Linked DNA regions of Homo sapiens: all the other regions are linked to region 2. Evidence: promoter capture Hi-C in 16 types of primary human blood cells and fetal thymus (Javierre and others, 2016). All regions are on one chromosome and are shown on one strand. Each heading gives the region's core, a stretch centred on a gene start or on the middle of the fragment in contact. The rest is flanking DNA. Distances are from core to core; before and after follow the strand shown.

Evidence for each region. Contacts are between HindIII fragments. The CHiCAGO score rates a contact against its expected background, and 5 or more counts as called.
Region 1: a contact is called between a fragment that was not itself captured here and the fragment with the promoter of RPS13 in region 2, in 2 of 17 cell types (total B cells and non-activated CD4 T cells). The highest score is 7.9, in total B cells.
Region 3: a contact is called between a fragment that was not itself captured here and the fragment with the promoter of RPS13 in region 2, in 1 of 17 cell types (fetal thymus). The highest score is 7.9, in fetal thymus.

Annotation. Positions count from the first base shown.
Region 1 is chr11:20,389,048-20,392,988 of GRCh38, reverse strand. It overlaps PRMT3 (protein arginine methyltransferase 3), which reads right to left. Exons shown (of 16, transcript NM_005788.4): 3 at 3,163-3,245; 4 at 729-778; 5 at 1-92. Among named protein-coding and RNA genes, the nearest start is that of PRMT3, 3.3 kb to the right of the region's middle. The HindIII fragment of the contact is 1,671 bases long and covers 989-2,659 here.
Region 2 is chr11:17,076,074-17,080,598 of GRCh38, reverse strand. RPS13 (ribosomal protein S13) reads left to right here and starts at 2,932. Exons shown (of 6, transcript NM_001017.3): 1 at 2,932-2,980; 2 at 3,122-3,170; 3 at 3,353-3,431. The coding sequence starts at 2,958. RefSeq lists an enhancer at 2,699-2,898. The HindIII fragment of the contact is 8,959 bases long and covers 2,131-4,525 here.
Region 3 is chr11:13,459,496-13,463,433 of GRCh38, reverse strand. It overlaps BTBD10 (BTB domain containing 10), which reads left to right and starts at 212. Exons shown (of 9, transcript NM_032320.7): 1 at 212-342. RefSeq lists an enhancer at 1-32. The HindIII fragment of the contact is 860 bases long and covers 821-1,680 here.

The DNA of each region.
Region 1 (3,941 bases), core at 575-3,074, 3.3 Mb before region 2:
AAAAGGTCATCTTCTAATACTGGCTTCAAATACTCTTCTTTCTCCCAAGGCACTGGGTTGTATATGGAATTCATGTACTCAACTGTAGGATTCTGGATATAAAATTAATCTCATGTTTTTTTCATTACATATAATCACAAAATCCCCTTAGTAAAAACTACAGAAATTAAACAAAAAGGAAATCATGTTTGCATTACACAAAGTCAGTATGTCTCCAAAAAGTCTACGTGCCTGTCATTTCATTAACTTGCTGGACGACTGCTTAACCAGCAGTTTCAACGCAGAGTTTTTTTTACTGTTTGGATTTGGGGAAAGCGTTGTCATGTCATTAAACATTCATTTAAACAGGACAAAAAAAAAAAAAAACAAAGTATCTGAAAAAAAACAGAATAAAAAAGAGCAACCAAAATACTTAAAATCACATTAGAAATTATTTCTGATTTTACAGATCCTGTCCATCAGTATTTCCCTTTATTTGACACTGAATTACTTTTTCACATACACCGATTCATCTCTTAGATGCAGTGAAAACAATATTTGTTAGTTATGGTAGACATTTACATGGTGCTTTCTGCTGTGCTACCTCCTAATGTCCGTGATTCCCCCAATATGATGAGTACCAAATTTAATGCAGTTCCTCATATTCTTTTAAATAATCAGTACACTGACAGTCACTGTAGCATTTCTTTGATTTCTAAACGAAATTATAAATTAAGCTGTCAACTTACCTTAAGTCTAATAAAATTTATTAGCTTAATGTATCCATAAAATTCAAGTCCTAAAGGGGGAAAAAGATAATTCACCTATGTTAACATAATGAGTTTTGTTTAACTGACCTATTCTATAAAGCCTTCTCTGATTAAACAATAAAATAATTCTGACCTCTAAATTACTACTTATATTTTGAATTTTATTAAGAATTAGAAGTAGTAATACAATGATACTTCTGAATATCTTGAGAAGCAGCCATAAATGACAAATTAAAGCTTTTCTAGTATTTCTAAAAAGATGGAAAACTGATTTCTAAAATTCTACTCCTCCTTTGTCAGAACAATACAAATCTGGAAAATTAAGATCCACATTTTACCAAGTATTTGGCAACTGATATCAGAGCTGAAAGTATTAAATCCCTAATTTTTATGGTGTGTATCAAATTATAATTTTGCCAGGACATGGTGTATACTAGCTTTTACATGAAGTTAAATGATGCAAGCCCAATAAGGCTTGTTATCTGGTTCTCGTATCTTTCCAGAAATGAAGCAGCATTTAAAACAAAGGAAAGCAGTAATACATCCAACCAACCAATTATTTGTCATAAAACTCTTGTTATGAGAAAACTTTAATAGTATACAAACCCCCTATATCGGTAAGTAAAAAAAAAACAAAACAAAATTCTATCTTAAGTATGATTCTAATACTTTAGAAATGCAACATTAAAAACATTAAGGCTGGGCACAGTGGCTCATGCCTGTAACCCCAGCACTTTGGGAGGCCAAGGCAGGCGGATCACCTGAGGTCGGGAGTTCCAGACCAGCCTGACCAACATGGAGAAACCCTGTCTCTCCTAAAATACAAAATTAGCCAGTGTGGTGGCGCATGCCTATAATCCCAGCTACTTGGGAGGCTGAGGCAGGAGAATCACTTGAACCCGGGAGGCGGAGGTTGCAGTGAGCCGAGATCGTGCCATTGCACTCCAGCCTGGGCAACAAGAGCGAGACTCCGTCTCAAAAAAAAAACAAAAACAAAAAACATTAAAAAATGAGGCTGTCATTTATGCCTTACGAAAGTACTTGCAGTTGAATTTATGATTTATAAACATGTGATATCACGTATTTATCTGACACTGAAACACCTGTTAGTATTTGCTATTCTTCAGTAATGTCCCTTCTTAGTTGTCAACAAATATAGGGACCAAAAAACCTATTATTTTTTTTTTTTTGAGACGGCGTCTCAGTCTGTCACCCAGGCTGTAGTGCAGTGGCATGATCTTAGCTCACTGCAACCTCCGCCTCCCGGGTTCAAGTAATTCTCCTGCCTCAGCCTCCCAAGTAGCTGGGACTACAGGCACATGCCACCATGCCCGACTAATTTTTTGTATTTTTAGTAGAGTTGGGTTTTCACTGGGTTAGCCAGGATGGTCTCGATCTCCTGACCTTGTGATCCATCCGCCTTGGCCTCCCAAAGGTTTTCACTGGGTTAGCCAGGATGGTCTCAATCTCTTGACCTTGTGATCCACCTGCCTTGGCCTCCCAAAGTGTTGGAATCACAGGCGTGAGCCACAGCACCTGGCCTATTTAGTTAATTTTATTGTAGTATAGCTCTTCTACATCCATTTAAAGTGGAAGGCCTTAATTGTAAGGCAAGTGTGTTTAAATAAAAGTTTCAATAGAAACATCACCTGAGTATTTTGCATATTAATCTTAACTTCATCACTCTTTTTCCAGTCTCTACCGAACTTTGTATAAAACTCAGTCTCGTAGGCTGTGAAGTTCATGTCATGCTTTGAGCTGATTGTCTTTTTTCAAATGACCTGCGTCCTTTTTCAAGTCCTACATCTACACTTGCTCTCCCTAAATCTAATATGTAATCACATAAAATGTAAAAATGTAATCACATGCCAAGTCTGTTTTTGTTTTTAGTTGAAAAGCTAATATAAGCTTAAATACAGTGAATCTTGTCTAGAAGAGTGACTTATTCATCTTTTCTCAAGGACCGCTTGTCAAAAAAACTCCATTTCCACAAGATGTTGCTGTGTGATTCGCCATATTAAACTCGTACAGAAAAGGGTCTGAAAAACTATAAAATCTGAACTTATATTTCACAGATTTTTTTTTTTTTTGAGAAGAGTCTCACTCTGTTGCCCAGGCTGGAGTGCAGTGATACCATCTCAGCTCACTGCCACCTCTGCCTCCCAGGTTTAAGCAATTCACCTGCCTCAGTCTTCTGAGCAGCTGCTATTACAGGTGTGCGTCACCACACCCAGATAACTTTTGTATTTTAGTACAGGTGGGGTTTCAGCATGTTGGCCAGGCTGGTCTTGAACTCCCGACCTAAAGTGATCCACCCACCTCAGCCTCCCAAAGTGCTGGGATTACAGGTGTGAGCTGCCATGCCTGCCCAAATTTCACAAATTAAATTGCCTTTATTCTAAAAACTACTCACCATGTTTATGAACCATGCTGTCAATATTAAACTGATGCTCAGACTTACAGTGTGAAAATGTTTCTTCAGCAGATGTGAATAACCTGAAAAATCAAGCAATAGCTTCATGGAATAGTCCCCTAAGAAGTCTAAATACTGATTTCATGTTACATATACACTTTTTTTTTTTTTTTAACTCTGCTGGTTTCTAGTTTTACTTCCAATTAAGAAAAAACAAACACACTTGTATCTGAAAGGAAGGGAATCCAGCACTTTTAAAGGGAATTAGTACTTCTGAGTCCCATTTTATACCTAAAACCAATTATCCTTTAAATGTCAAAGTGAATTTATTTGTCAAATAATATCACTGATTTTATCAAAAGGCTTTTAAGAGAGTTCCCTTTGATAGAGTCTGTTTCTCTCAAGTCATACAATTTCTCTACTTGAGATTCTTTTCTCCTCTAAGTGTCAACTCTGCTTTCAGAGGCTTTGAACTGGCACAGCTCAAACTGCTTTTAGAAATAAAGCATAAAATGTAATTTTACAGCTGGCATACTCCCCAAGTGCCTTATTTCAAAAGTGATCTTGTAGTATTCCCAACGTACTTGCATCACAGACACTGTGAGGATCAATCCTCTTTATTATGTGACATGCAAATCTGAAGGCTACTTAAAGACAGGAATACACAGCAGAGAAGCTGTATACCTTATCTATATTCCTAACACATGTGGAGCATTAGTTTTCCACAAATGTTTACCGAGATAGGTTATGTCGACTATTTATGGAGGCTATCACAGCCA
Region 2 (4,525 bases), core at 1,683-4,182:
GGGGGAAAAATGACATTATTTAGGTTCATTCTTTCAAATAATTACTGAGTACCTAACTTCCCGCCAGGCACTCTTGTGGGTGTTGGAGATAAAGCAATAAACGTTGTACTCTCAGAGCTAATTTTTATTGGAGGTGGACAGGCAACCAAACAAGCAACTAGAAAGGATGTTAGAGATTTGGGTGCTTTGAAAGTAATCAATAGGATATTGTGTTGGGAAGAAGGACTACTTTAGATGATCCTATTTAGGGAAAGCCACCCTGAGATGACATGGAGGCCAGGATGTGAAAGTGAGACCTGAAAAGGTCTTGAGGAAGAGCAAGCACTTCAGGCAGTGCCAACAGCAAGAGGAAGGGCTCTAAGCAGGAAAGGAACACATTGCTACCTTGTAGAGTCAGAAAGGAGTAAGTGCGGTTAGAGCGTTTAGAATCGGGGGATAGTGGCAAGACGTGGGTCCAGGGATTGGATCTTAGGTGCATTGAGAAAGTATGGGAGGGATTTACACAGGGGAGCAATGAATTAATCTGCTTTATGTATTTAATGGATCACTCTGACTGCTAGGTGGAGAGTGGGTTGTGTTTAGAGTGGGGACGTGACCAGACGGTGTGGATACTACAGAGTTGCCCAGATAGGAGGTGATGGTGGCTGGGACTGAAGGTGGAAATGGGGCAAAGGGAACATATTCATGATACATTCTTGTGGTAGAGCTGGGATGACAGAGGGAAATCAGAGAAAAACGGAGATGCCTAGGTTTGTATTAAGTTTGAGCAAACAGGATCGTGTTTAACTGAAACAAAGGGGCATGGTTTGGGAATTGGAGTCATATTAAATTTGAGATACCTATTCCATATCTGAACTAAAAATGTAAAATTGGCTAATGATAAACTTTGCTAGAAAAAAACATTACCCAAATAGGGTACCCGATTTGACTAAAATTCCTAATGCTTTGGGAAAAGTTATTAATCAAATAGTGACAGATTATGGCTTTTTTGGGGGGGAGGGGTGTTGTTTTCTTGGAGAACTGACCCGTTTGTTGTTATAAAGGGTTCTCTCTTTATCCCTGATACTTTTTTTTTGAGACGGAGTCTCGCTCTGCCACCTAGGCTGGAGTGCAGTGGTGCGATCGTGGCTTACTGCAAGCTCCGCCTCCCGGGTTCACGCCATTCTCCTGCCTCAGCCTCCTGAGTAGCTGGGACTACAGGCGCCCGCCACCACGCCCGTCTAATTTTTTTGTATTTTTAGTAGAGACGGGGTTTCACCGTGTTAGCCAGGATGGTCTCGATCTCTTGATCTCGTGATCCGCCCGCCTCAGCCTCCCAAAGTGCTGGGATTACAGGCGTGAGCCACCGCGCCCGGCTATCCCTGATAACTTTATTTCAAATAGTGACAGGTTAAAAGTTAAGAGCGGATGTTTCAGTATCTAGTTTCCCAGCGTCTTGCCAGTTACTTTAAGCTTGTCGACAGGAGTTTGATTTCACTGACCTCCCTCCTTCCTAGAGCTATGCTTACTTTTTAAAATTTTAAGAAGCTGCTTCATTTGCCCATTCTTTCAACGCATTGTTGTGTACCGGCACTGAGTCAGTCTTTTTCTTTCTTTCCTTTTTTTTTTTTTTTTTTAAGACAGAGTCTTGCTCTGTTGCCCAGGCTGGCGCGCAGTGGTGCTATCTCGGCTCACCGCAATGTCCTTCCCGGCTCCAGAGATTCTCCACCTCAGCCTCCTTCGTAGCTGGAACCAAAGGCACGAGCGAGCACGCCCGGCTAATTCTTTGTATTTATAGAGAGGGGGTTTCGCCATGTTGCCCAGGCTAGGTCTGTCTTAAAAGAGCTTCTTCCGGCCAGGCGCGGTGGCTCACGCCTGTAATCCCAGCACTTTGGGAGGCCGAGGCGGGCGGATCACCTGAGGTCGGGAATTTAAGACCAGCCTGACCAACATGGAAAAACCCGTCTCTACTAAAAATACAAAATTAGCTGGAAGTGGTGGCGCATGCCTGTGATCCCAGCTATTCAGGAGGCTGAGGCAGGAGAATCGCTTGAAGCCGGGAGGCGGAGGGTGCGGCAAGCCGAGATCGCGCCATTGCACTCCAGCCTGCGAATCAAGAGCGAAACTCCGTCTCAAAAAAAAAAAAAAGCTTCTTCCTTGACGGTTCCCTTTTCCCATGAAATTCAAATGCTTCATTTTATCCCTCATCCTCTTGGCCTTTGCAGTCTTGCTCCCAAGGCTCTTCCCTGCCCGCCAACTCTCTCACTTGGGAACATAGCTCCGTAAGCCTCTGCCCAACCCTTCTCCCCGGCGAGCCCAGCGCCCCAGAGCCCTGCGCAGGGGAATTCGAGTGCGGAGGGCGGCAGGCATCCGTGGGGACCTGGTTCAACTCCTTAGACCGGTTCTTCACCGTCAGCGACTCTCCCCTGACAGATTAGGGTAGGATTTAGAAATGAGAAATGGAAGCGCTGGCTGGGCGGTAGCCGCTGCCATGGCTTCCCGTGTGGTCCTCATCACATGCTATTGTATCTGTTAATTTATTAGGCGCAGGGCCGACTCTGAGGGATCTAGTGCCAGGACAAAGCCAGGCACTGGTGAATGAGCAAACACCTGTGTATGGCTGCTTCTTCCAGCCCTACCTGCTCCATACCCACCCCCAGCGCAGCATTCGAATCTTTGTGATCTCGGCGTCCACAGGGAATTTCGACGCAAGCTGGCGTCAGCCTCAAATTCCCGCTCTGGCAACAAGGCTGACCAAAGACCGATGCATGCCGGGATGAGGCTGGATTGACGATCTCTTGCGACGCTGAAATGCATTTCGGGAGATGTAGTCACACAGACGGGCGGTGGCTGCGCAGCGTAGCTCCGCCTCCTGCGTGAGAGGAAGCGGGGACGTGTGAGGTCACTTCCTGCGTGTTGGGTGGCTTCCTGCGGCGTTTCCACTCTCGCTCTCCTTTCGTTGCCTGATCGCCGCCATCATGGGTCGCATGCATGCTCCCGGGTGAGCTCGGGGCATCAAGCCGGATTGCTGGGCGGGGGGTGGGAGGAAGACAGGGAGTGTGGGCAGCGGGCCGAGGGGATGATGTTCTGGGCTGCTCTGGCACTAGCCGCCACCTCACCTCGAGACTGCTTCTCTCCCCAGGAAGGGCCTGTCCCAGTCGGCTTTACCCTATCGACGCAGCGTCCCCACTGTAAGTAGCGCGCTGGGACCGGGGAGAATCCGGGGAGGGGGTTGGCATTTGTCTCGGGTGAAGCGACGCCAGGGTGAGGAACTTGCGTGTATGAGGAGCGCGGTTTTGCGGAAGGAGAGACCGCTGTTCTGCGGCGCCATTCCTGGGTTCTCATCCTAAGGCTGCTTTCTATTCCATAACAGTGGTTGAAGTTGACATCTGACGACGTGAAGGAGCAGATTTACAAACTGGCCAAGAAGGGCCTTACTCCTTCACAGATCGGTGAGTGTTTGTGTCTAACATAGCCTATTTCGCCTGTCCTCGTGTGACTTGTAGGATCTAGTAGGTGGTAAAGTTATTTTAAAAATAGCCAAAACTCTGGTCTCGCCACCGTGCTAGAGGCATCATTGTAAGCACTTCACATGTACTGATTTCGTTTAATTCTGACCACAATACTTTGAAATAAATCTTCATGGCTTTCACCCCAGTTTACAGTTGAGGAAGCAGAGGCACACTGCCGCTGGATACTAACCAGCCCCAAATCACACAGCTGTCAAGTGGAGGAGTTGGAATTGGCTAAGCAGAGTGCCTGACACAGTTCCTCACAGTTAGGTGTGGTTTGAATCTCAGCTGCGTGTGACTTCGTGCAAGTGGCTTCATTCAGCAAATGTTTACCTTCTATGTGCTGAACATGGTTCTGGGGCCTGAGAACATACTACTCTCCGACTCCCCCGCCCAAAAAAGCCAGCCGCAATGTGCCTGTAGTCCCAGATACTTGGGATGCAGAGGTGAGAGGATCACCAGAGCCTAGAAGTCCCAGGCTGCAGTGAGCTATGATGAAGCCACTGCACTCCTGGGTGACAGAGAGACCCCACCTCTTTTTTTTTTTTTTTTTGAGACAGTCTTGCTCTTGTCGCCCAGTCTGGAGTGCAGTGGCGCGATCTCAGCTCACTGCAACCTCCACCTCCTGGATTCAAGCGATTCTCCTGCCTCAGCCTCCCGAATAGGTGGGATTACAGGCGCCCGCCAGCAGGCCCAGCTAATTTGTGTGTTTTTGTTTGAGACCGATTCTCACTTTGTCACCCAGGCTGGAGTGCAGTGGTATGATCTCGGCTCACTGCAACCTCCGCCTCCTGGGTTCAAGCAAGCAATTCTCCTGCCTCTGCCTCTGGAGTAGCTGAGACTACAGGCCGCACCACCACGCCCGGCTAATTTTTGTATTTTTAGTAGAGACGAGGTTTCACCATGTTGGCCAGGCTGGTCTCAGACTCCTGACCTCAGATGATCCACTGCCTCGGCCTCCCAAAGTGCTGGGATTACAGGCGTGAGCCACACCACCTGATCCCACCTCTTAAAAGGGGGAGGGGGGTGCAAAA
Region 3 (3,938 bases), core at 1-2,500, 3.6 Mb after region 2:
GGTCGCGCGGCGCCTTCCTCTCCACGCGCCTGAGATCCCACCCGTGGCCGCCGCGCCCTCAACTGCCTTCTCCTTCGGTGCCCCGCCCACCCCTGGGCGGAGAGCACCGTTCTCGCGAGAACGCTGCTGGCCTCGCCTCTTCGCATTGTGAGCTCTCGCGGTAAGAGGCTGAGGAGCCGGCCTGCAACCTGCCGGGGCGGCTCCGCTACGCGCAGCCGCCTCAGTGGCTTCCTCCACAGCCACCTCCGGAGGGATCTGGCTGAGGAGGAAGTGGAGGTGTCACTGGCCCCGGCCTTTGCCCCAATCTTGTGTGGGCACTGAAGGGGGACTACAGGTTCGAGAGTGAGTGGACTCAGCTGGGGAACTCGGCGGGGGCGGCGCGGGAGGCTGGGCTTGGCCGGGGCGAAAGAGGAAAGGGGCGGAGGGCGAATCTGGGCGTGAGAGCCAGGCTGCTGCGGCGGTGGTCTGGGCGGCCGGACCCTGCTCGGGTACCGTGGGTGGCGTTTTGGGCTCCGGCCACGAGCACCCAATTAGGAGAGGCCGGGATAAGACTTGAGTTTTGCGGCTGCTGCTTTTGGGTTGGGAGTCCGGGGGCCTTTCTCCGGGGATGAAGGCGATACCCTCATCCCTTTCCAGGGCAGAGGAACCCCGTGCCCCGCCCCTTTCCTGTCATCTCAGACGAACGCAGCGACATCCTGAGGAAGGCGCATCACAATAGGGGATAAGGTGGTGGGCAGCCTCCCTCTGGGTGAAGAGGAGTGAGACCCCACTAACGTGCTGCGTGGTTTTATGTTGTAACCATTTTACGTGTGGTAAAGCTTTGTTTTCTTAAAACTTGCACGGAAAAGGTTCTGATGTCTTTCTTCTTCAGATGCAGGTGCCCTGACACCCTTATCTTTGGGAATGGGGCGGGGGAAGGTGAGACATCGGTTAGTAATTTGTTAGTGTGGGCCAGTGTGACTGTCCCTGGGCCTCACAGATTTCCTGCTTCTCCTTTCTCAGTATTCTGAGTCCATGATGAAAAGTCACTAGTCCAGACATGCTGAAAGATAGAGCTTCACTTGCTTGTGGCTTTGTGCACTTAGTAAACAAGATTATTTTACGAAGATTTATTATCTTGCAGAGTTTTCATGCTTTTTATTTAAATTAGCAATCTAAATGAAACAGCACAGGATATTAATTGTATTTGGACAACTGAGTTCCTTCCCGCCCCTATCCTCCCAACCCCCCAACTACACAAATTTGATCAAAATCTTTTAGAGAGGGGGTTAGGGATAAATTTTCAATGAAAGAGACTGTGGAAATCGGAATAAGAGATATAATAAAGAATGCAGCCATAACGGCCAAAAGAGTTTCTGTATTAGAGAGCCTGTCCAGGATTGAAGTTCAGTCCTGAAACCCAGGACTGCAGTTGTCATTTGAATATAAAGCGGAAAGCAGTAGAAAATACTTGGGAAGGGATTTGAAAGTGGACCAAGACTGGTAAAAAAAAAAAAAAAAAAAGTGTGAGAAGAATTATTTCTGATGATGTAAATGTGTTTTATAAATTTTCCCAATATTTCTCAGCGTGTATGACCTAACAGCTATTATATTAATACATACAAAGTAGGAAGGAAGTTTCTGAAGCATGGAATGTGGTAAGGAACCACCAGAGAGTAACAGTGTTCAATCAGGAAAGCTTTTAGTGTTTCAACAATGTTTTTGTGTTCGTTCACCTTTTTTCTCACTCCCAGAAAAGCTTTCAGATAGACTTCTAACCCTATGTAATTATGTTACCCTTCCACCAGTCTGAATTTTCTTCTTTCTCACTCCCTCTAAGCCATGTGAATTTTTTAAATTATTAACTATGGAGTTGCAAACCACTGTGGTCTGCTTTTGGCTTTTTATAATAGGTGACTTAGGGAAGTATGGAAGTGATATGGAAAATATTGTGCACCTTTCAAAGCCATAGCATGAGCAACAAACTCACATGCCTTCGGGTACTAGTTAGATAATGAAAATGAGGGAAATGCACTATGCCTTATCAGAGAGACATCCAAGTCTCAGGTCCCCCTAATCAGTGCTATATAAGAATATGGACCCCATCTTCAGCATTCTCAAGAGAACTCGGAAATCTAGATTTTTGCATTCAGTGTCTTGCGTCTTAAAAATATTGACAACTAATTAAAACCATTAAAAATATCATGTGACTGAATCAAATCCAAACCTGTCCATAGTTGTATTCTCCTCTCCAGTTTAGAAGCTCTGTTATAAATCAAAATTAATAAATTTTATGACTGGAAAAAAAGGAGGTTTAAAGCAAGTTTGGAGTTTCAAACTTAAGGGGTCTTGGGAAAAATGTCACATCTAATTGAAAACAGTAGTTAAGTTTAATAGCCTTTAAGTATAGTTATAGTAGGGCAATTTGAACTGGTATTTACTATAAACGTTTTAACTGTGGAAATAACTGAAGAAAAAGCATCTCAGTATTTATGGTTTAAAAACTCAGAGTTCTGAGCAAAGCTGATTTATAGGTATCTTGTACAGAAATTGAATTATTTAGAAGCTCTTTATTGTATTTGCAGCTAATATATAAAATTAAATACAAGAGACCCTCTACAGTCCATTTCAGGATTTGAATGTTTATTGTTTGCTGTGCTATCCCACATTGTCTTCCTAGGCATTGACTTACTGGAAGAAATACTGATCCCTTGGATTTTATTCCATGCCAGATGGAGATTGGAGGGGTTTGGCAACAGGATGGAAAGAACTGGGTGGAGAAAGTGTGATGTGAAGCAAACACTCTTGTGCCCCTTCCTTACATTGTTCATTAAAAGATTGATTTGTGTTAGTTTTTCTTGTAAGAAGGATAGGTATATTAATTGATTAAACTTAGTGCCTTATACATAGTAGAGTTTAATGACGTGTGGAATTGACCTTTGTGGATTAAGCCTCATTTACCCATTAATGTGAAGTAATTTAATCACATAATCTGATTCATACCTAGTTGGGTTATGGGGAATGGGAGTGCTAGAGGTCAAAGCTAAGTAAGAGGTGTTTTTTAGGCATATAGAGGGCAAGTTGGGGGTCTTCACTTGGGATAAGGGTGAGAGAGGAAGTTAGGTAAGGGAGAGAATTTTGAAAAGGAAGATGAAATGATTAAGTACCCATTTGTGTATTGTGCAGTTTTAAAAAGAGGTCTGCCTTTTGTGGCTAAATTTATCATAACTTGTGCAGAGACTACATAGAATACTGGTTTTTAATCAGGACTGCTATGGGAATTTGCAGATTTTCTTTTCTTCATTTTAGCTCAGTCATCTCAGGCCAAGCTAGGCTAATATCTGTTCATTCAATCTCTGCCTCTCTCTGAAATAGGAAATGAAAGAAGAGGAGATATGTATTATGTTTGTGAGGTGCTCCTGTTGAAGAGTTATAAGACTACTTCTGAGGAATTTGTTTTATATTTGAGAAGATTGTGCTTGTTGAAGGGGGAACCATTATTTTCGTCTTTACTTGTTTCTACCATGACTCATAAAGTAGGAAGTTCTTTTTTGGAAATAGCTTTCCGCTTCTTCCCATCCCCTGAGTTGCCATCCCAAAGGAGGATCAGGGGAGGCTAAGGGAAGGGATTGAGTATACTTTTGTTCAGTGCCTTATGATTCAATTTTTGGGACTCTCAATTCTTAGGCTATACATTGTCTATTCATTTGTATGGTAGGCTTATCTGAGCAGGCTGGACTACTAATACTATGAGGGAGAAGGAAATGGAATGCCTACAGTTCTAACTGGGTAAGTTTAATTTGCAGTTGAAGTAATAAGGGTTTTTGCACGTTGGATTTAGTTATATTTTTACCATCATCTGTTTGGATCCTTTATTTTTTGTTGATTCTGAACCGAAAGTAAGGCGGGTCAGGAAGATACAGATGTTACCTTCTCCTGTTAATGGAGAAAGAACTATT